Regions from separate parts of the Homo sapiens genome. Here all the other regions are linked to region 1. Evidence: promoter capture Hi-C in 16 types of primary human blood cells and fetal thymus (Javierre and others, 2016). All regions are on one chromosome and are shown on one strand. Each heading gives the region's core, a stretch centred on a gene start or on the middle of the fragment in contact. The rest is flanking DNA. Distances are from core to core; before and after follow the strand shown.

Region 1 (3,380 bases), core at 169-2,668:
AAAACATTTTTAACGAAAAAAACATATTTTAGGTAAGAATAAATGTCAATTGTATAGTGTATCAATTATATCTCAATAAAGCTGTTACAAGAACAAAATGTATGTGAAAAGTCACCAGTAAAGAAAACCTGCCATTATTACTAAGAGCCAAATCTGTGGTGATTTTTAAGAAGCTCCCACCATGAAGGAAAAGGGGATCTCACCTGAAACTAACAACAGGTCCAACCTCAGAAAAGATGTCCTTCAACTGCTCTTCAGTAGCTTCATAAGGAATGTTCCCCACTAAGGAAGAAAATAGGTAACATTAAAATTCTGAGTTTATAACATAGATCTTTAGTGAGAAAGTAAACTTATATCATCAAATATAAGACTCAAAATAGTGTTCTCCAATCCCAATTCCATTGTATTTCTTCAGACCTCTTAACAAAGGAAATATACCACTGAAACTAAATACAAAATGTGTAGGTACTCTCAAATGTTAGTTCTCAGACTGATCTGACACGTGTTAGATTTTCCTTAACTTTGGTGCAAATAAATACTTTGGCACTGGTATTTACCTAAAGATCTGCAAGTCTCATCAGTGACTACAAAAAATATCAATGTTATTTAATATAATTTTTAAAACAGGTTCCTATGTATTTCCACACATACAACATTTAAGGGAGAATGACGATGAATGTAGTGAAAGATGTTTAAAAAGTATTCTGAACTACTTTGTCATGTCCCTTTCAAATGGTACTCTAAAATAATCACACGTATTTTTAAAAACAACTTATTTCAGCCAAAAAGATAATTCAGAATCGTTTCGATCCTTTTTAAAATTCCTCTGAGGAGATCTTAATAGTTCATTCATTCATTCACTTACAAGCCATCTCAGGACACCAGGTGGCCGCTACCACTATTGATGCACTAAAATGTTACAGATAAAAAGCAAAGGATGAAAGTCCTTAGGAGAGGACAGTAAGTGGACACTAGGATCTATACCCTCAGCATATAGTCTGTATTCTGGGGCAGAGGATGAGAAGTAGTACGGGACAGTGAGGAGCTGTTACCGTGAGCCTTCTCCTCTAGAGAATAATTGAAGCTCATGAAAGGAGAAACGCACAGAAGCTGAACGCTAGTCTAACTTCCCCACTGATATTGCGGAAAGCCTACGAGACCTCGGCAGAATGGGAATATCTCTTTGCTCATGAGTCCACCAGGTTGGACGCCCTACAGGATAAGCAGGGAGAACTGCACGTCCGAACCGTCAGCGGCTCCGGTAGCGATTCATGAGATAGAAGGTGCAGAGGGGAGTCCCTCCCCGAAGCTTGACTACAACGAATTCCTCTCACCGAACACAGAACGTAGAGAACGATCCACCGCTGGGTCTCTCACAGTCAAACCCGCCATAGCTCTGTTGAGTCGGCTTCCGGTGCGCCAAAGCACACTTCCGTACGGAGCACAAGCCCAGCGCTGAGCACGCTTCCGTACGGCGCGTGAGCCGGAAGGGCCTGGGCGGAACGGACGCAGAGCCCCTCCCCTGGAGACATTCTGTTAGCCGCAGGCGCGAGTTGCGTCCACCGGAGGGCTATATTCTCACTCCTGAGATTAACTCTGTTCCGAGCCAGATGCAGGCGAGTCCAGGCTAATTTGAAGGGTTTCAGCCTGCAGACTTCCTTCTTATTAATTTTCTCTTAGGTTGATGCAAGTACTCCTCAACCACAATAAAGGCGCAGCGGCTTTACCATGGTAACAGGGAAGTCCTTTGCTGACAACTGTGGGGCTTGCATTTTAGTTCCGCCCTATCAAGGGAGGGAAATGCTTGGGCCCGTCCCAGCAGCGTGCATATTATTTGCTAAACCTGTTCGTGTGTGGAGTGAGATGAGGAAAGGGCATGCCAGCCGAGAGAAGCATAGTTAAAGAAATGGGAGAGGTAAAGGGAGAACAGACCTCTGTCCTCGTGTAGTCCGTGGGTTCCATGTGCTTCGTGGTGGGGCGGTGCGGCAGGGGATTCTGGCAGGCAGAGTATCGGAAACAGAAAACGTCATTCATCGGTTTTTCCACACTTTGGTGCCCACGCGCCTGGGATATGGCATGCAGGGCAGGTCGTTGTATCATCCCGGAAAGGCAGACCCTGCCGGGGTTGGAGGAAATCCAGGGGGCACCTCAGGAGGACAGGGTTAGGGGATAAGCAAAGGAAGGAGCCAAGAGCGCTACCTTTGAGGGACTTGTCCGAAAAAGGAAGACGGTAAAATAGCCACGGAATTGGAGGCATGGACGTTTTTATTAATTCCACATGTATTAAAAGTATATGGGCCGGGCGCGGTGGCTCATGCCTGTAATGCCAACACTTTGGGAGGCCGAGGCGGGCGCATCACCTGAGGTCGGGAGTTGGAGACCAGCCTGGCCAACATGGAGAACCCCTTTTCTACTAAAAATACAAAATTAGCCGGGCGTGGTGGCGCATGCCTGTAATCCCAGCTGCTCAGGAGGCTGAGGCCAGAGAATCGCTTGAACCCGGGAGATGGATGTTGCGGTGATCCGAGATCTGCCATTGCGCTCCAGCCTGGGCAACAAGAGCGAAACTCCATCTCCAAAATAAAAGTATATGAAATATGATAAATATTTAGAAAAAATTAATAAGTGCTAGTTTACACCATGAAGCATATCACTTTAAGAAGTAATTCTGGTAAAGATGGAAAGTTTGAGAAGAGTATACCCATTTCCATGACTCTAGAGTCCCATTTGCAATCACTGTGTGACCAAGAGGACACCTTGTGTAATGGAATGGTCCAAAAGGAGATTTACAGCTCTGTAGAAGGCACAGTTTCAAAGAGTTTTGGTGTGTCATTGTTCCGTTGTGGTGAACTTTTGCTAAATGCATGTACGGCTGAGTATATTTCTAACTCAGTGTTTGGCAAACTTACATAAACAAAAGATTAACCTGGGGTCTTTGAGTAAGAGTATAGATTCCTGGGGCTCCACCCCAGCCCTATGGAATGGGACTCCAGGGAAAGAACTTGGGAATCGTTATATTTAAACAAGTGCCACTGGCGATTCTTAGGGTCAGGTAATTTGAGTAGCATTGTAGTTATTGAGGTAGCTTTATGGCAGCATTTAAGACACGCATGCTTTCTTATGAAATTTCCCTTAAAGTAGTTCTCAAAGTTCTCAACCCTTGTGGAGGAGCATTTTTGGAAATGTACAGTGGCATTTTCAGTTGTTGCAATGACTACTGCTAGGGGAAGAGAAGCCAGAGATGATAAATGGACTGCCATGTCCAAGGCAGTTCTACAGGATGAACCCCTCCCCCCACTGAATGCCAATAATGTCTCTCCCCTTGAGAAACACTTAATATCAGCCATATTAGACCAAATGGACCCTGGATCTGAATGCTA
Region 2 (3,476 bases), core at 356-2,855, 480 kb before region 1:
AATAAAAATACAAAAAATTAGCCAGGCGTGGCGGCGGGTGCCTGTAGTCCCAGCTACCCGGGAGGCTGAGGCAGGAGAATGGCATGAACCCGGAAGGTGGAGCTTGCAATGAGCCAAGATCACCCCACTGCACTCCAGCCTGGGTGACAGTGTGAGACTCCGTCAAAAAAAAAAACTGAAAAACAAAAAACTAATATCAGTTCTTCTCAAACCCTTCCAGGAAACTGAAGAAAAGAAAATTCTTCCAAACTCATTTGGAAGAATCTATTAGGCCAGCATTACCCTGCTACCAAAACCAGACAAGGACACAACAGAAAAGAAAGCTGTAGACCAATATCCATGATGAGCATAGATGCAATAATCCCTAACAAAATACTAGTAAACCAATCCCAGGAGCACATTTAAAATATCATTCACCATGATTGGGATTTATCCCAAGGATGCAAGGATGTTTCAGTGTATGCAAATCAATAAATGTGATATAACACATCAACAGAATGAAGAACAAAAATCATTTTATCACCTCAATAAACTCAGTAAAACACATTTGATAAAATTCAACATCCCTTCATGATAAAAAGTCTCAACAAGTTAGGTACAGAAGGAATGTACAGCAGCACAACAAAGGCCAAACCTACAGCCAGCATCAGACTAGCAATCCCACTTACAATAAATCCCATTTACAATAAATACAAAAAGAGGGAACAGTTGGAAGCTTTTACTTTCAGATCTAGGACAAGACAGGCATACCCACTTTCACCAGTTTTATTTAATGTAATGCTGGAAGTCTAAGCCAGAGTAATTCAGCAAACGAAAGAAATAAAGAGAATCCAAATTGGAAATTAAGGAAGACAAATTGTCCTGTTTGCAGACAACACGATCTTATATGGAGAAAACCCTAAAAGCTCCAGCAAAAAAACTGCTAGAACTGATGAACAAATTCAGTAAAGTTGCAGAATACAAAATCAACATATAAAAATCAGTAGTGCCGGCCACGGTGGCTCACGCCTGTAATCCCAGCACTTTGGGAGGCCAAGGCTGGCGGATCATGAGGTCAGGAGATTGAGACCATCCTGGCTAACATGGTGAAACCCCGTCTCTACTAAAAATACAAAAAATTAGCTGGGCGTGGTGGCGGGTGCCTGTAGTCCCAGCTACTGGGGAGGCTGAGGCAGGAGAATCACTTGAACCCAGGAGGCGGAGCTTGCAGTGAGCCACGATCATGCCACTGCACTCCAGCCTGGGCAACAAAGCAAGACTCCATCAAAAAAAAAAAAAATCAGTAGTGACTCCATACACCCCAACAATGAACTAGTGGAAAAAGAAAGCAAAAGAAGCAATCCTGTTTACAATAAATAGAAAAAATACCTAGGAATGGCCAGGCGCAGTGGCTCACACCTGTAATCCCAGCATTTTGGGAGGCTGAGGCAGGCAGATCATGAGGTCAGGAGTTCGAGACCAGCCTAGCTAATATGTTGAAACCCTGTCTGTACTAAAAATACAAAAATTAGCCGGACATGGTGGTGGGCACCTGTAATCCCAGCTACTCGGGAGGCTGAGGCAGCAAATTGCTTGAACCTGGGAGGTGGAGGTTGCAGTGACCCAAGGTCATGCCACCGCACTCCAGCCTGGGTGATGGAGCAAAACTTGGTCAAAAAAAAAAAAACATAGGAATATATTTAAATGAGGTAAAAGATCAAGATGAAAAAGTTATAAAACACTAATGAAAGAAATTGAAGAGGACAAAAAACAATAGAAAGACTTTCATGTTCATGGATTGGAAGAATCAACATTTTGAAAAAGTAATCTATTACCAAAAGTTCTCTATGCGTTCAGTGCAATCACAATCAAAACACTAATGACATTATTCATAGAAATATTTTTTAAATCTTAAAATTTGTATGGAGTCACAAAAGATTCTGAGTAGTCAAAGTAATTCTGAGCAAAAAGAACAAAGCTGAAGGCACCACACTACCTGACTTCAAAATATACTACAAAGCTATAGTGACCAAAACAACGTGGTACTGGCATAAAAACAGACACATAGACCAATGGAAGAGAATAGAGAATGCAGATATAAACCCATGTATTTACAGCCAACTAATTTTTGACAAAGGTGCCAAGAACATTCATTGGGGGAAGTGACAGTCTACTAAATAAATGGTGCTGGGAAAACTGGATATCCATATGCAGAAAAATGAAACTATACCCCTATATCTCACCATATATAAAAATCAACTCAAAATGGATTAAAGACTTACGTGTAAGACCTGAAACTATGAAACGACTAAAGGAAAACAGAGGAAATACTTGAAGACATTGGTCTGGGCAAAGATTTTACGGCTAACGCCTCCCAAGCACACACAACAAAAGCAAAAATAGAGTAGTGGGATTACATAAAAAAGAAAGAAAATTAACTCAAAATGGATTAAAGACCTAAATGTAAGACCTTAAACTATAAAACTCTTAGAAGAAAACATAGGGGAAAAGCTTCATGACATTGGATTTGACAATGATTTCTTGGATATAACAACAAAGGCACAGGCAACAAAAGAAATAGTAGATAAATTGGACTTCACCAAAACTAAAAACTTTTGTGTACCAAAGGATGCTATCTAGCTGGGATTACAGGTGCCCATGACCACGCCTGGCTAATTTTTTTTTTTTTTTGTATTTTCAGTAGAGATGGGGTTTCAGCAGGTTGCCCAGGCTGGTCTCAAACTCCTGACCTCAAGTGATCAGCCTGCCTTGGCCTTCCAAAGTGCAGGGATTACACCACGCCCAGCCAGAATATATGAAGAACTCTTACAACTCAAGAACAACACAAAGTAGAACCCAACTAACCTAATTAATAAGTGGGCAATAAAGTTGCAGAATACAAAATCAACACACAAAAATCAGTAGTAACTATACACTCCAATAATGAACTAGTGGATAAAGAAAGTAAAAAAGCAAACCCATCTACAGTAACTAAAAAAATACCTAGGAGTATATTGAAATTGAATAGATGTTTCTATTCAATATTTCATATGCTAATTGGCCATTTGTATCTCTTCCTTGGAGTAATAAAATAGGCATTTCTCCAAGGAAGAGATACAAATGGCCAATTCGCACATGAAAAAGATGCTCAATATCATTAGCCATCAGGGACATGGAAAGCAAAACCACAATGAGATACTACTACATACCCATTAAGATGGCTATTACTTTTTAAAAGTGGAAATTAACAAGTGTTGGCAGGGACATGGAGAAATTGAAGCCTTTGTGCACTGTTGGTGAGAATGTAAAATCGTACAGCCACTGTACAAAACAGTTTGGTAGTTCTTCAAATAGCTAAACATGGAACTATGGTGTGATCTAACAATTCCACTTCTAGGTGTCTTCTTAAAAGAATTGCAAGCAGGGACTCCAACAGATATTTTTGCACCAATATTCATAGAAGCATTCATCGCAATAGTTAAAAGTTACAAACAACC
Region 3 (3,810 bases), core at 36-2,535, 380 kb before region 1:
TTTTTTTCCTGGAGCATGTGTACTCAATTAGGGGTGAGGGAAACACATGTTTTATAAAACAAAAGTGGTCATTATTCTCTGCTCCAATAAGAGTGTGTTTTATCTTTTATCATTAAAAGAGGAATCAGTATTTTTACCAGGAGTTTTCAAATACATTTTTCTTTGAAGAAAGTTCTGGTGTGTTTCAATTGTTTTAAACTAAGATTAAGCTCAGGGCAATAATTCAAAACGTTTAAATTATACATAGTGATTAGTTTTAATTTTTAGTGTGGGAAAGTGGTAATTGAAGACAACATTAATTTGGTAATGTTAAAGCATTAAGTGGAGAACAACCTTTCAATTTTCCTCACCCTAGTGTGATTTATTATATTATAGCCCATACTTGCAGTATCTATATTATCTGCTTCAAGGTATTAGATCTTATGATACTAATAATCTTAAAAAGGAGATATTTTTCTTAAGAGAGTACCAGGCACCAGGTGTGGTGGCTCACGTCTATAATCCCAGCACTTTGGGAGGCCAAGGGGGGCAGATCACCTGAGGTTGGGAGTTCGAGACCAGCCTGGCTAACATAGGGAAGCCCCGTCTCTAATAAAAATACAAAAATTAGCTGGGTGTGATGGCACGTGCCTGTAATCCCAGCTACTTGGGAGGCAGAGGCAGGAGAATCACTTGAACCCGGGAGGTGGAGGTTGCAGTGACCCGAGATTGTACCACTGCACTCCAGCCTGGGAGACAGAGTGAGACTCCATCTCAAAAAAAAAAAAAAAGAGACCGGATGCGGTGGCTCACGCCTGTAATCCCAGCACTTTGGGAGGCCAAGGCGGGCGGATCAGGAGGTCAGGAGTTCGAGACCAGCCTGGCCAACATGGTGAAACCCCATCTCTACTAAAAATACAAAAATTAGCCAGGCGTGGTGGCGGGCACCTGTAATCCCAGCTACTCAGGAGGCTGAGGCAGGAGAGTCACTTGAACCCGGGAGGTGGAGGTTGCAGTGAGCCGAGATCGTGCCACTGCACTCCAGCCTGGGTGACAGAGCGAGACTCCATCTCAAAAAAAAAAAAAAAAAAGAAAGAGTACAAGGAGCAGCTTGCAATACCATATGATTTTATTCTCAAAATGGTGTAATGAAAAAAACCCATAGACTCTGGTGTTAGTAGATCTGAAAGGCAGACCTGACTCCATTATGAATGACTTTGTGTGAATTATTCAATCTTTCAGAGCTTATAGTTTCTTCAACTGTAAAATGAGACTATTATAATAATGCCTGCCACACTGAAGAATCTGGATGAAAGGCATCCACACAATATCTTAGAATGTGAACTGGATATAATGCATGACAATATTTTTTTTTAGACAGGGTCTCACTCTGTCACCCAGGCTGGAGTGCAGTGGCATGGTCATGGCTCACTGTAGCCTCAACTTCCCAGGCTCAAGCAATCCTCCCTCGTCAGCCTTCTGAGTAGCTGGGACTATAGGTGTGTGCCACCATACCCTGGTAATTTTTTAATTTTTTGTACAGATGGGGTTTCGCTACGTTGCCTAGGCTAGTTTTGAACTCCTGGGCTCAAGTGATCCTCTCACCTCAGCCCCACAAAGTGTTGGGATTACAGGCAAGAGCCAGTGCACCCAGCTTGATACTATTTTTAAAATTCCAGTACAATTAGGCTGACAAAGGTTTAGGTTTGGGGTTTAAAAATCTAAAAATACTAAATAGTAAAAAATGCAGTATAAAGATTTTAATAATGGTCGTGGTAATCTAAGACTGACAGAACCAGTATTTTAATGGAAAAAAAGGTTACTTTTCAATTCCTAGAAATAAGTATTTCATTACTGAGAGAATAAGTGTATATCTGTTTGGGAAGAAGGGAGTGCACAGAAGGAAGAGATTATAGGTAAGCCTCTATATTCTATTTTTAATTTCTTTATTATTTATTTATTTATTTTTTGAGACGGAGTCTCGCTCTGTCACCCAGGCTGGAGTACAGTGGCGCGATCTCGGCTCACTGCAACCTCTACCTCCCAGGTTCAAGCGATTCTCCTGCCTCAGCCTCCCGAGTAGCTGGGATTACAGGCACACACCACCACGCCTGGCTAATTTTTGTATTTTTAGTAGAGACGGGGTTTCACCATGTTGGCCAGGCTGGTCTGGAACTCCTGACCTCAGGTGATCCGCCCACCTTGGCCTCCCAACATGCTGGAATTACAGGCGTGAGCCACTGTGCCTAGCCTAAGCCTCTATATTCTAATCCACTTGTTGTAGGGCCCTGATATGGGCACCCAAATGTAGCTTTAAAATATAAGGAGAATGACAGACAATAGTATATATGAAATATTCTTATCAAAAGATAAGATCTACTCTAATTAAACCTGTAGGGAAAAAAGGGACAAAGGAGCATGTTAAACAATATCATGAGAATAGAATGAGCAAACTCTAGAATGTGGGAAACTTAGGAAGACACCCAGTTTCTTCAACAAAAAAATTGCAAAAATAAAAAGGAACAAGGAGAACCTATAGATTAAATGAGGCATTAAAGACATATCAACCAAATGTAACCTGGGGACCATTTAAAATACCTGAATCAAACAAATGGTTATAAAAATACTTTGAGACAATCAGGGAAACATAAAATAGACATATATTAAGGCAGTATTGTTAATGTTTTTAGATATAATTATATTAACAAGCTTTTTAAAAGAATTATTGAGACAATATTAGCGAAAATGGAAGAGTAACGGCCCCCCAAATTCAGTCCTCCGTAAAATTTTTTTGAAGCCAAAACTAGTCAGAATCAACATTTTCAGAACTCTGGAAATTAACCAAAGGCTTGCAGCAACCTGGGGAATGTATTTTAAAGAAAAACACCTGAATCTCTGTAAGAAAAGTGAGCTTCACGTCATTTTAATTTGTCCTAGTTCCATCTCCCACTCTCTAGCTCTGCAGTAGCCTTAAAAAATTACAGTCCACATTTATGAAGAAAACCAGCAGCCTGACACGTGAGGGAGCAGAAAGAGGTGGGAGCTTATTCAAAGCCTCATTCCTAAACAACTGTCATTGTTATATATGTCTGGTGGTTCCCTGGAAAATACCACTTGCTCAGAGATAACACAGTGCAAAAAGCCTTCTCCAGGGGGAGTATTTGCCAAAAACAAATACAGGCAAGTGATTTAGCTTTGCAGCTGCCTAAGGCTGTGAATAACAGTTAAGGTACACAATAGACTAATAAAAAATCTTAAACAGAAAAATTGGGGAAGAATATATCTATAAGCACTTTGAAAACCTCCTACATTTTTCAGAAGATCTAGAAGGGCATAAGCATGCATAGGACTGTAAACATGCTCTGGAAAGACTCAAGAAGGCCCCACACTGTCATGTTTGGCTGACCTTGAGCCTTTGCACAATCAGGAAGTGAACACTAAGGCAGAGTTGTTAATGGCCTGGGTGATTGTTGAAAGTACACCCCAACATGCACACGGAGTTCTTTGACAAAGACTAGGAGATTTGCTGGTTCTGGGCATTTAAGAAGCTCTGTCCAATCATGAACTAATCTCTAAAATAGCTGAGTAGAGAATTCAGTGGTCACATATGACAAAGAATACAGACTAGTTCAGAGAAGTCACTAAAACAACCACCCACCCACATTAGTAAAAACAAGTCAAAACAACAATAAACCTTGGTAAAGAGAGAGCATCTGATTTCCAAAGTTGCCACATCAGATTATTCAAAAGTCTAGTTTTCAACAAAAAATGATGAGTGATACAAATAAATAAGAAAGTATGGCTGGGCACCGTGGCTCATGCCTGTAATCT
Region 4 (3,757 bases), core at 730-3,229, 280 kb before region 1:
ACAAGATATTCTTGGAATTGGCTGGCAGTAATACCATTCTACACTAGTCCAATCTTTCCACTTGATCTCAGGCCTCTATGGTGTTCTCCCATCTGGTAATAGAAATGATGTCACAGAGATCACCTGAGGTCAGGAGTTCGAGACCAGCCTGGCCAACGTGGTGAAACCCCATCTCTACTAAAAATACAAAACTTAGCTGGGCATGGTGGCGGGCACCTGTAATCCCAGCTACTCAGGAGGCTGAGGCAGGAGAATCGCTTGAACCCGGGAGGCGGAGGTTGCAGTTAGCTGAGATCACACCATTGCACTCCAGCCTGGGTGACAAGAGCAAAACTCCATCTCAAAAAAAAAAAAAAAAGATGTCATAGAGACTGGCTTTGAATATATCCTATCTCAATTTCTGTTAATTAAGGCTTCAAGAATTAGAATATATCTCATCACTTTCTACACTATCATTCTGTGGAGAAGAAAGGAAGCAGTGATGATAGGTAATGAATCACAAAAATAAAAATCTCTGCTTTCCACTCTTGTGGTTTCTTGTTTTTCTTGTTTTCTTTCTCACTCCCATCCACTAACTCTTCGAAATTTAAAATAGTCTCACCACCAACACATTACATGTGCACCAAATTCAAAGGGAGAATTCAATATTAATTCTATTTTTACTTCCAAGTGACTTAATTTTTAAAGAGTCTAAAGTCCCTTTGTACCTAATTATGATGACATTTCTACCATACCTGCCTCTAAATATGCATCTCAACTTACCAAAAGAGCTGCATGTAAAGATCTAGTAGGGATGGGGACATCACAGAAATAACTATAATAAAAGGGAGAAAAGGAATTAAGGAGGCCACATTTGACCTCAGCAAATTCCAGCTTAACAGAAAAAAAAAATGAAAAGTAACAATAGAAAGCCAGAGATTATTTTTTAACTTGCTATATAAAAGTTTCCCGAGTCTGAGGCATGCATTTTGAGACACCTCAAGTCCTAGCAGACATCAAGATAACCTAATCATTAATTTCTGAGATATCAAAAGGAGGCTGGGTGCAGTGGCACGCACCTGTAGTCCCATCTACTTGGGAGTCTGAGATGGGAGGATTGCTTGAGTCCAGAAGGTCAAGGCTGCAGTGAACCATGATCATACCACTGCACTGCAGTCTGGACAACACAGCGAGACTCTGTCACGAAAAAAAAATTTCTAAAATAGAAAACATCTGTATACTCCATACATGTTGTTTTTTTGTTTTGTTTTTTTGAGATGGAGTCTCGCTCTTCACCCAGGCTTGAGTGCAGTGGCATGACCTCGGCTCACTGCAAGCTCCGCCTCCTGGGTTCACGCCATTCTCCTGCCTCAGCCTCCCAAGTAGCTGCGACTACAGGCGCCCGACACCACGCCCGGCTAATTTTTTGTATTTTTAGGAGAGACGGGGTTTCACCATGTTAGCCAGGATGGTCTCGATCTCCTGATCTCGTGATCCGCCCACCTCGGCCTCCCAAAGTGTTGGGGTTACAGGCGTGAGCCACTGCACCCGGCCCCTACTCCATATATGTTTTAAGGTGAGATGGGAGTGGGAGAATTGATCTTGACAGACATTGTTCAGTTAAACATGGATTCCTGGAAAGATATTAGAACCAAATAATCTAAAACCATCTACAAGAAAAAAGCCAATTTTATTAGGTCTAATTTAACTTTCTAGGGAAACAGAGAACTAATCAGATAAAAATAGAGAAATAAAATACTTGACAGTCATATGTTGAATTCGGTTAGTAATGTGTTGTTACTTTAAAATAAATACACACACACCCCTGCAAGTATGCTGCTAGGGTATAAACAAAGGAATCTAACATGCAACAGCCAGGAAATACTTAGTATATAAAGCATTTGGTTTTGAGAGCTGTCTTAATTTTTCTTTTTTTTTTTTTTTCCCAGAGACAGGGTCTTGCTCTGTGGCCCACACTGGAGTACAGTGGCACCATCATAGCTCAAACTCCTGGGCTCAAGTGATTCTCTTGCCTCAGACTCCCAAGTAGCTGGGACTACAGGCACATGCCACTGCACCTAGCTAATTTTTTTTTAACATTTTGTAGACAAGGTTTCGCTTTGTTGCCCAGGCTGGTCTCAAATCTGGCTTCAAGCAATCATCCTGCCTTGGCCCCTCAAAGTGCTGGGATTATAGGCATGAGCCACTATACCCAGCCTTAACTTTTTTTTAAGTAGGAAAAAAAGCAGCAATGTGGTACAGTATAAGCACTAGAATGGGAGTTTGGACATCTTTAAGCAAGTCTCTTTAACTACTCTGAGCCTCTTTTTCCTCACCTTTAAATGAGAGTGTTTAGAGTCTAAAATATCTTCCAAGTCTGAATTTAAATGAGAAAAACTTAAAAGGTTCAAGTAAATAAAATATTGACCAGGTGTTATTTCTAAGAACCTCTTCCAACCATCCCAACCACCACCAATGAATTTAGAACAGGAAAAGATATTTGCACAAAAGAAAAAGCATCTTAGCTGGGCACACTGGCTCACGCCTGTAATCCTAGCACTTAGGGAGGCCAAGGCGGGTGGATCACCTGAGGTCAGAAGTTTGAGACCAGCCTGGCCAACATGGCGAAACCCCGTCTCTACTAAAAATACAAAAATTAGCTGGGTGTGGTGGCACATGCCGATAAGCCCAACTACTCAGAAAGCTGAGGCAGGAGAATCGCTTGAACCCAGGAGGCAGAGGTTGCAGTGAGCCGAGATCATGCCATTGCATTCCAGCCTGGGTGAAAGAGTGAAACTCATCTCAAAAAAAAAAAAAGAAAGAAAGAAAGAAAATGAAGGTAATGAAGTAGACTAAGTGATCTTTTAAGATGCCTTCCAGCAACATTGTTTAAATTACTACGTATGCTTCTTAAGATAAATACTAAAAAATGGTTCTCATGTATTTGGTGACAAAAGTATGTATTTTGCATTTTATCTGTGATGATATATGGTAACTGGTTATTTTTGGCATATGCACACAGAAACTTTTGGCCCAAACACACACACAAAAAAACCCATTTTATAATCTTAACAGATTGGTCTTATGAAGAGAACAGTAAACATAAAAAACTGCAACTAATTCCAATGAACAATGTAATTCAAAGTCTAAAAGGAAGGTCGGACACAGTGGGTCACGCCTGTAATCCCAGCACTTTGGAAGGCCGAGGTGGGCGGATCACCTGAGGTCGGGAGTTCGAGACCAACCCGACCAACATGGAGAAACCCCATCTCCACTAAAAATACAAAACTAGTCAGGCGTGGTGGCGCATGCCTGTAATCCCAGCTACTCAGGAGGCTGAGGCAGGAGAATCGCTTGAACCTGGGAGGCAGAGGTTGCAGTGAGCCAAGATTGCACCACTGCACTCCAGCCTGGGCAACAAGTGCAAAACTCAGTCTCAAAAAAATAAATAAACAAAGTCTAAAAGGAAAAACTAACAGCAAAGTGATGACAAAAGCATCCCAGGCTGGGCGCAGTGGCTCACACCTGTAATCCCAGCACTTTGGGAGGCCGAGGCGGGTGGATCACGAGGTCAGGAGTTCAAGACCAGTCTGCCCAAGATGGTGAAACCCTGTCTCTACTAAAAATACAAAAACATTAGCCGGGCGTGGTGGCAGGCACCTGTAATCCCAGCTACTCGGGAGGCTGAGGCAGAGAACTGCTTGAACCCGGAAAGTGGAGGTTGCAGTGAGCTGAGATTGCGCCACTGCACTCCAGCCTGGGCGATGGAGTGAGACCC
Region 5 (3,464 bases), core at 64-2,563, 460 kb before region 1:
TTTCTCCACCTCCTCACCAGCATTAGGTGTTGTCACTATTTTTCATTTTAGCCATTCTGATAGGTGCATAGTGATCCCATTGTAGTATTAATTTACATTTCCCTGATGGTTAACGGGGTTGAGCATCTCATGTGCCATCTATTCCACTTCAGCGAAATGTCTGCTCATGCCTTTTGCCTATTTTCTAAATTGATTTTTTATTATTGAATTTTGAGAGTTCTTTTTATATTTTAAATACTACCAGTGTTTTATCAGATATGTAGTTTGCAAATATATTCTCCCAGTCTGTAGCTTGTCTTTCCATCCTCTTCGTAGGGTCTTTCAGAGAGCAAAAGTTTTTAGTTTTGATGAAGTACAATATATTGATTTTTTTGAAAACGATCTTGCTTTTTATAGTAAATCTAAGAACTCTTTGCCTAGCCCAGATCCTGAAGATTTTCTCCTGCTTTTTTTTTTTTTTTACATCTTTTTAAGCCTGATGCCCATTTTCGACTTAATTTTTGTAAAAGCTATGAGGTTTAGTTCAAGGTTTTTTTTTTGTTGTTGTTGTTGTTTTGTTTTTGTTTGTTTGTTTGTTTTTGCTTTTCTTGCCAAAGGATGTCTAATTGCTCTCGCACTATTTGTTGAAAAGGCTATTCTTCCTCTGTTGTATTGCTTTTGCACCTTTGTGAAATATCAGTTGGGCTTGGTTTTATGGGTCTGTTTCTGGGTTCTCCATTCTCCTCCACTGATCCATCTGTCAATCCCTCCACCAATATCACAGTGTCGCTATATAATTGGTCCTGAAATTAGAAGGCTGATTGCTCTGACTTTACTTTTCTTTGTCAATATTGTTTAGCCATTCTAGAGTCCATATCTTTATTTATTTATTTATTTATTTATTTTTTGAGATGGAGTCTCGCTCTGTTGCCCAGGCTGGAGTGCAATGGCACGATCTCTGCTCACTGCAGTCTCTGCCTCCCGGGTTCAAGCGACTCTCATGCCTCAGCCTCCCAAGTAGCCAGGATTACAGGCATGGGCCACCATGCCCGGCTAATTTTTGTATTTTTAGTAGAGACGGGTTTCACCATGTTGGCCAGGCTGGTCTCGAACTCCTGACCTCACGTGATCCGCCCGCCTTGGCCTCCCAAAGTGCTGAGATTACAGGCATGAGCCACCACGCCTGGCCAAAAGCCTGTATCTTTTAATATAAATTTTAGAATAAGCTTGTCTATAGCTATAGAAAACCTTGCTAGAATTTTGGCAGGAATTACATTAAACTTGTAGATCAATTTGGGGAGAACTGACATTTTTACTATATTGAGTCTTCCAATCCATGAACACAGTTGCCTTGGCTTTTATACTCTGTAAATCAACATTTATTGAGTGCCTACTAAATGTAAAACTAAGTTAAGGATAGTTGTAGAGCTCTTTAAGCTTTACTGAAATATAGGTATCATAATATAACTTGTTTATTGTGTTTTATTTCATAGGTCCCTGATGTCAAAGAAATGGAAAAAAGCAGCTTTACTGAGGTAGAGCAATCATAATATAACTTCATTTTTACCCTTAATGTGTTTTATTTAATAGCTCATTAGTTTCAAATGAATCAAATAAACCACAGAAGCTACTTTTGAGCCTTCCTTCTCACCTCTAACCCTCATCCTAAACACATACACTGGGTTTGATTCACTAAAAAATGAATTCATTGTTTGATGTTTGATAACTGCTAGAGGAAAAGATACAATTTGGCCAGTGACCCCGTGTATTCTAATCTGCTCTTTTTATTCTGATATTTATTTCAAAAGCCATTCCTTGGGAGCCAGAGCTCACTTTTAACAGCAGTTGTTTGCAATTGCTTATTCCCCATCAAAATCCTAATTTCTATTTGTGGCACAACAAATTGGTTGCTGTGGAGATAATTATGTAAAACTGGATTCAAGGGAGAACATGCAGCTAAGATCCAGTTTTTATAGGAACGTCTCTAATAATAAAGATGTGGGGAAGTGAAATCTGGGAATTTGGATCTTTAAACCAAATTATTTCTAAATAACTAATAAGGAATTATAGTTCTTTGCCAATATAAATCAGGAGAAATAATTTATAACTGAGACCTAAGGGTTGCACCTCTGAGAGAGGGCTTTACCATAGAGCTGCAGATTGAAAAGATTAAATGTCTCAAGTAATTTGTTTAATTAGGAAAAAAGTAAGTTTACTGTACAAAATTCTAGACCCTGGCTAAAGATTCCTTTATAAATAGCACTACTTAAAGTAGAAATTTGGTTGGATCAGAATTTAAAGAGGCCTAACATTTGAATTCGTTGGTACGTAGGAGGGCACTCCTGCAACACACAGGGTGTTAAATGACAGTATTGGTATCCCCCTCTAATCCCCAACTTTGCTTCAGTACATTGAATCTCCAGACGTGGAAAATGAAGTAAAGAGACTGCTGCGTTCGGATGCTGAAGCCGTAAGTACCCGTATCCTTTATACAAATATTTTCTGCATAGTCTGTTCTGCCCCATTTGTACATGCTGACGAAGCCTCACCTCTGGTGTTTGTGTGCCAGTCTTGATGTGTGGAACTTAAGATTCTTTGAAATGTTCTAGCTAGGAACAGTAAATTCATGTAATAGAAAATTATTTATTGTGTAATTCAATATGAGGCACTTCTCCAAACTAGGAATTCCAATACAAATGGCCTAAAGTTGGACTAAATTAAATAGCACTGTTAGCCAAAGAGCCCCTTCCCTTTCAGCTGTGCCTTTTTGTTTCCTTCTGTGTTTTCCTTGACTACCCACTCCTTTCAGGTTGGGAAGTCATTGCTGAAGATGGAACCAAGGAAATAGAAAGTCAAGGCTCCATCCCAGGATTTTTGATATCCTCGGGAATGAGCAGCCACAAGCAGGGTCATACCTCGTCAGGTACTTTAGTAAAGGCAAAGCAGGAGTTTCAGATAGGGCAGGTATTGACTGGGTATCAGATCATTTTCCATAAATTCATAGGCCAATCCAAAAAAAAAAAAACCCAGAAAAAAAGGATGGTTTCGTCCTTCCCTCTTTTTTTTTTTTTTTTTTTGAGATGGAGTCTTGCTCTGTCGCCCAGGCTGGAGTGCAGTGGCGTGATCTCGGCTCACTACAACCTCTGCCTCATGAGTTCAAGTGATTCTCCTGCCTCGGCCTCCCAGGTAGCTGGGATTACAGGTGTTCACCACCATGCCCAGCTAATTTTTTACTAGCGTCGGGGTTTCACCATGTTGGCCAGGCTGGTCTTGAATTCCAGACCTCAAGTGATCTGCCTGCCTCGGCCTCCCAAAGTGCTTGAATTACAGGCATGAGCCACTGTGCCTGGCCTTTTTTTTTTTTTTTTTTTTTTTTTGAGACAGAGTCTCGCTCTGTCGCCCAAACTGGAGTGTAGTGGTGCGATCTCGGCTCACTGCAACCTCTGCCTCCCAGGTTCAAGTAGTTCTTGTGCCTCAGCCTCCCA
Region 6 (3,327 bases), core at 592-3,091, 390 kb before region 1:
TCAGAGAGTAGGAGGGAGGGATTTTCACCATGTATGATATAGATGCAGGAGGCTGGGAGATAAGTTGAAGGAACAGGTTAAGTTGGAGGAACAGGTTAAAAATGTAGGGGGCACAATGTCAAAAAGGCTGGAATTCGTCATTGGAGTTGATAAGGAATAATGCAAAGCCATAACAGACTAAGGGTTAAAGAATCAGTATTGTCCCAGTCAATGGTCTGAGCACTCTCTGTTGCTTTTGTTGAACATCTGAAAATGTGGAACTCATTTTACACACTTGGTTACCTCCCACCCTCTTCTGCTGTTCTTCAAGCTTCTGCTAAACCAGACCCAGCAGCTGGGATGTTATATAACATAACTTCTATTTATGTTTTCAAATATATTCCACTTAGGCCAAAACCATTCAAGCTACGGTTAAAGTGGTATAGTGGAAAGAATGTTGAATTAGGAGTCAAAAGACAAAGGTTCTAATCCCAATTTTGCTACGAAATTGTCACTGACATTTTTGAGCTTTGATTTTTCCTTCACCAGATAGGAGATAATAGCTGTCTGCCCTGTTTACTTCACTCATTTGGATTGAGACTCAAATGGGATAATGGATGTGAATATATATTGAAACTATAAAGTGTTATTCAAATGTAAGAGATTATTATTTCTATTGCTTCAAGGTCCTGGTGGTTTTCCTATATGCAAAGGACATACATCCTAGAGTAGACTATAACAGCTAAGGACGTCGTGCCAGGAATGTAATTAGCTCCCTGTTTCCATGCTAGATCAGATACTATATTTCTTTAAGTAGACACACCAACCACACAATTCAGGTTTATTCACTATCTTTCACATTATCAACCTTCCTATCCTCCTTTCAGCCCAGACTGCTAGACATATGCACATTCACTAGCAACCTTTCACATATGAGCTTCCAAGAAAACACACACAATTCAATAAGAACTACTGATTTTCGGCTGGGCACAGTGGCTCACGCCTGTAATCCCAGCACTTTGGGAGGCTGAGGTGGATCACCTGAGGTTGGGAGTTCAAGACCAGCCTGGCCAACATGGTGAAACTCCATCTCTATTGAAAACACAAAAATTAGCCAGGCATGGTGGCAGTTGCCTATAATCCCAGCTACTTGGGAGGCTGAGGCAGGAGAATCACTTAAACCCGGGAGGTGGAGGCTGCAGTGAGCCAAGACCACGCCATTTCACCCCAGCCTGGGCAAAAAGAGCAAAACTCCATCTCAAAAAAAAAAAAAAAAAAAGAAAAAGAAAAAGAAAACAACTACTGATTTTCTAGGCTAAAGAGAACTGCTATTGATTTGTACTTTCATTGTGTTTAGGATACTGAGGCAAGATGGTCACTCACTTCTTGCTTGTAACTTGGATTGAGAGGGGAAGGGAACTAACATTTTTGAGACTGTATTCTGTGCCAAGTAGTGTACCTATGTGCCAGTGTTACCTCCTGCAATGCTCACAATGATTCAGTGAGGTAAGGGTTATTATTTCCAACTTTACAGACAAGGAGACTACAGCTCAGAGATGTTAAAAGTAACTTGTCCAAATTCATAAAGCTAATAAAAAAATGCAAGCTGGGATTCAATCCCAAATCCACCTGACTCCAAAGCTGATACTCTTCCCACATCTCTCCTACTTTTAGGCAGGGCCACAGTATTACAAATAGGACACATCCTAGAACTTACCACTTCATAATTCTAGGTGCACTTGAAAGCACATATTGGCATATATGGGTGGCAAGCACCTTGACCACCAACTGGTAGAGACCCATTTCAGGGATGCCTTTAAACCCTGAAGTTGCTTCAGAATCTAAAGCAACCCTGGGCCTAAACAACAAGAGCTGTCTGTTTTATATCTAGTAGCAAGCTCTATCTGTCTCACAAAAGAAAGGCAGGTATTTATTTGCTTGGTAGAGGCAAAGTGACAATTTCAAGGTGAGACTCTGTCAGCGATAAAAGGATGCCTCATACAGGACAATAACCAGTCAAACTTGGAGCTACCATATTGCCCCCTCCTTAGATCCAGTCTTAAATTCGATCTCACAGGAGTCAGTGGAGTTAGTAGGTACCTACTTGGTATAATTTGAGGAGGACTGAAATGCTATCACTAATAAAAATGACTTCCCCTGCTGGCCCCACCATGGTGCCTGCAATTCCCTATTAATCATTTCCTTCAAGTTAAAGCATCTGTCAAAATGAAAGTGCTATCTTCAGTTACTATACATTATACTCATTAGTTTGTCTCTTTCGTTCTAATCACCAGACAGGCATGGGATAGAGGGCAAATGATTTTGAAGGGGAAGGCAAAGAAGGAAAGATTCAATATGATGTATGATGCACAGCTAGAGTACAACAGGGCTAGGGTAAGACATTTTAAAACCCCAAGAACGATGGCTGGGTATGGTGGCTCACACCTGTAATCCCAGCACTTTGGGAGGCCAAGGCAGGCAGATCACGAGGTTAGGAGTTCGAGACCAGCCTGGCCAACATAGTGAAACCCCGTCTCAATTGAAAATACAAAAAATAGCTGGGCATGGTGGTGCACACCTGTAGTCCCAGCTATTCAAGAGGCTGAGGCAGGAGAATCACTTGAACCCGGGAGGTGGAGGTTGTGGTGAGCCAAGGTCACACCACTGCACTCCAGCCTGGGCAACAGAGCGAGACTCCATCTAAAAAAAAAAAAAAAAAAAAAAGGAAAAACAAACAAACAACCCCAAGAATGAAAGAGATAGATAATGGTACAAACCCTAAGTGCCTATAAATAATTTAAGATATAAATAATACTAACCTATAAAATAAGCATGAGAGAATTCAACAAAATCTGAACTTTTTCATAATTACAACTGCAATTCTTTCTTATTGTCATGCGGTTCACTTTTTAAAAGTGCACAATTCAGCCAGGTGTGATATAATCTGAGCACCTTGGGAAGCTAAGGCAGGAGGATTGCTTGAGCCTGGGAGTTCAAGACCAGCCTGGGTAACACAGTGAGACTGTGTCTCTACTGAAAAATATTTAAAAATTAGCCAGGTATGGTGGCTCGTGCCTTTAGTCCCAGCTACTCGGGAGGCTGCGTGAGGAGGACCATTTGGGTTCAGGAGTTCCAGGTTGCAGTGAGCTATGATTGCACCACTGCACTTCAGCCTGGGTGATAGAGTGAAACTCTGTCTCAAACTAAAAACTCCATACCCATTATCAGTTGCCCCCAATATCCCCCCAGTCCCTTCTCAGGCCTAGGCAGCCACTAATCTACCTTCTGTCTCTATAGAGTTTCCTATTCTGGCCATTCTACACAAATGACATCAAACAACATGTGGTC

What was found. The method cuts DNA at HindIII sites, captures the fragments that hold promoters and counts their contacts. A CHiCAGO score of 5 or more calls a contact.
Region 2: a contact is called between a fragment that was not itself captured here and the fragment with the promoter of CSTF2 in region 1, in 1 of 17 cell types (total B cells). The highest score is 6.1, in total B cells.
Region 3: a contact is called between a fragment that was not itself captured here and the fragment with the promoter of CSTF2 in region 1, in 1 of 17 cell types (erythroblasts). The highest score is 5.4, in erythroblasts.
Region 4: a fragment that was not itself captured here is called in contact with the fragment with the promoter of CSTF2 in region 1 in 6 of 17 cell types (total CD8 T cells, total B cells, non-activated CD4 T cells and 3 more); the score reaches 8.1 in total CD8 T cells.
Region 5: a contact is called between a fragment that was not itself captured here and the fragment with the promoter of CSTF2 in region 1, in 1 of 17 cell types (non-activated CD4 T cells). The highest score is 5.3, in non-activated CD4 T cells.
Region 6: a contact is called between a fragment that was not itself captured here and the fragment with the promoter of CSTF2 in region 1, in 2 of 17 cell types (activated CD4 T cells and endothelial precursors). The highest score is 5.6, in activated CD4 T cells.

The regions. Positions count from the first base shown.
Region 1 is chrX:100,818,429-100,821,808 of GRCh38, reverse strand. CSTF2 (cleavage stimulation factor subunit 2) reads right to left here and starts at 1,418. Exons shown (of 14, transcript NM_001325.3): 1 at 1,335-1,418; 2 at 204-282. The coding sequence starts at 1,392. RefSeq lists enhancers at 1,187-1,346, 1,627-1,676, 1,687-1,746. The HindIII fragment of the contact is 13,366 bases long and covers 1,312-3,380 here.
Region 2 is chrX:101,298,973-101,302,448 of GRCh38, reverse strand. No RefSeq gene overlaps it. Among named protein-coding and RNA genes, the nearest start is that of TAF7L, 9.4 kb to the right of the region's middle. The HindIII fragment of the contact is 1,775 bases long and covers 718-2,492 here.
Region 3 is chrX:101,195,228-101,199,037 of GRCh38, reverse strand. No RefSeq gene overlaps it. Among named protein-coding and RNA genes, the nearest start is that of DRP2, 23 kb to the left of the region's middle. The HindIII fragment of the contact is 2,811 bases long and covers 1-2,690 here.
Region 4 is chrX:101,103,019-101,106,775 of GRCh38, reverse strand. The region is part of intron 4 of CENPI (centromere protein I); the gene reads right to left. Among named protein-coding and RNA genes, the nearest start is that of CENPI, 6.7 kb to the right of the region's middle. The HindIII fragment of the contact is 5,027 bases long and covers 1-3,757 here.
Region 5 is chrX:101,277,044-101,280,507 of GRCh38, reverse strand. TAF7L (TATA-box binding protein associated factor 7 like) reads left to right here. Exons shown (of 13, transcript NM_001168474.2): 7 at 1,473-1,514; 8 at 2,387-2,459; 9 at 2,789-2,902. Among named protein-coding and RNA genes, the nearest start is that of TAF7L, 13 kb to the left of the region's middle. The HindIII fragment of the contact is 211 bases long and covers 1,208-1,418 here.
Region 6 is chrX:101,212,405-101,215,731 of GRCh38, reverse strand. No RefSeq gene overlaps it. Among named protein-coding and RNA genes, the nearest start is that of DRP2, 5.7 kb to the left of the region's middle. The HindIII fragment of the contact is 3,058 bases long and covers 313-3,327 here.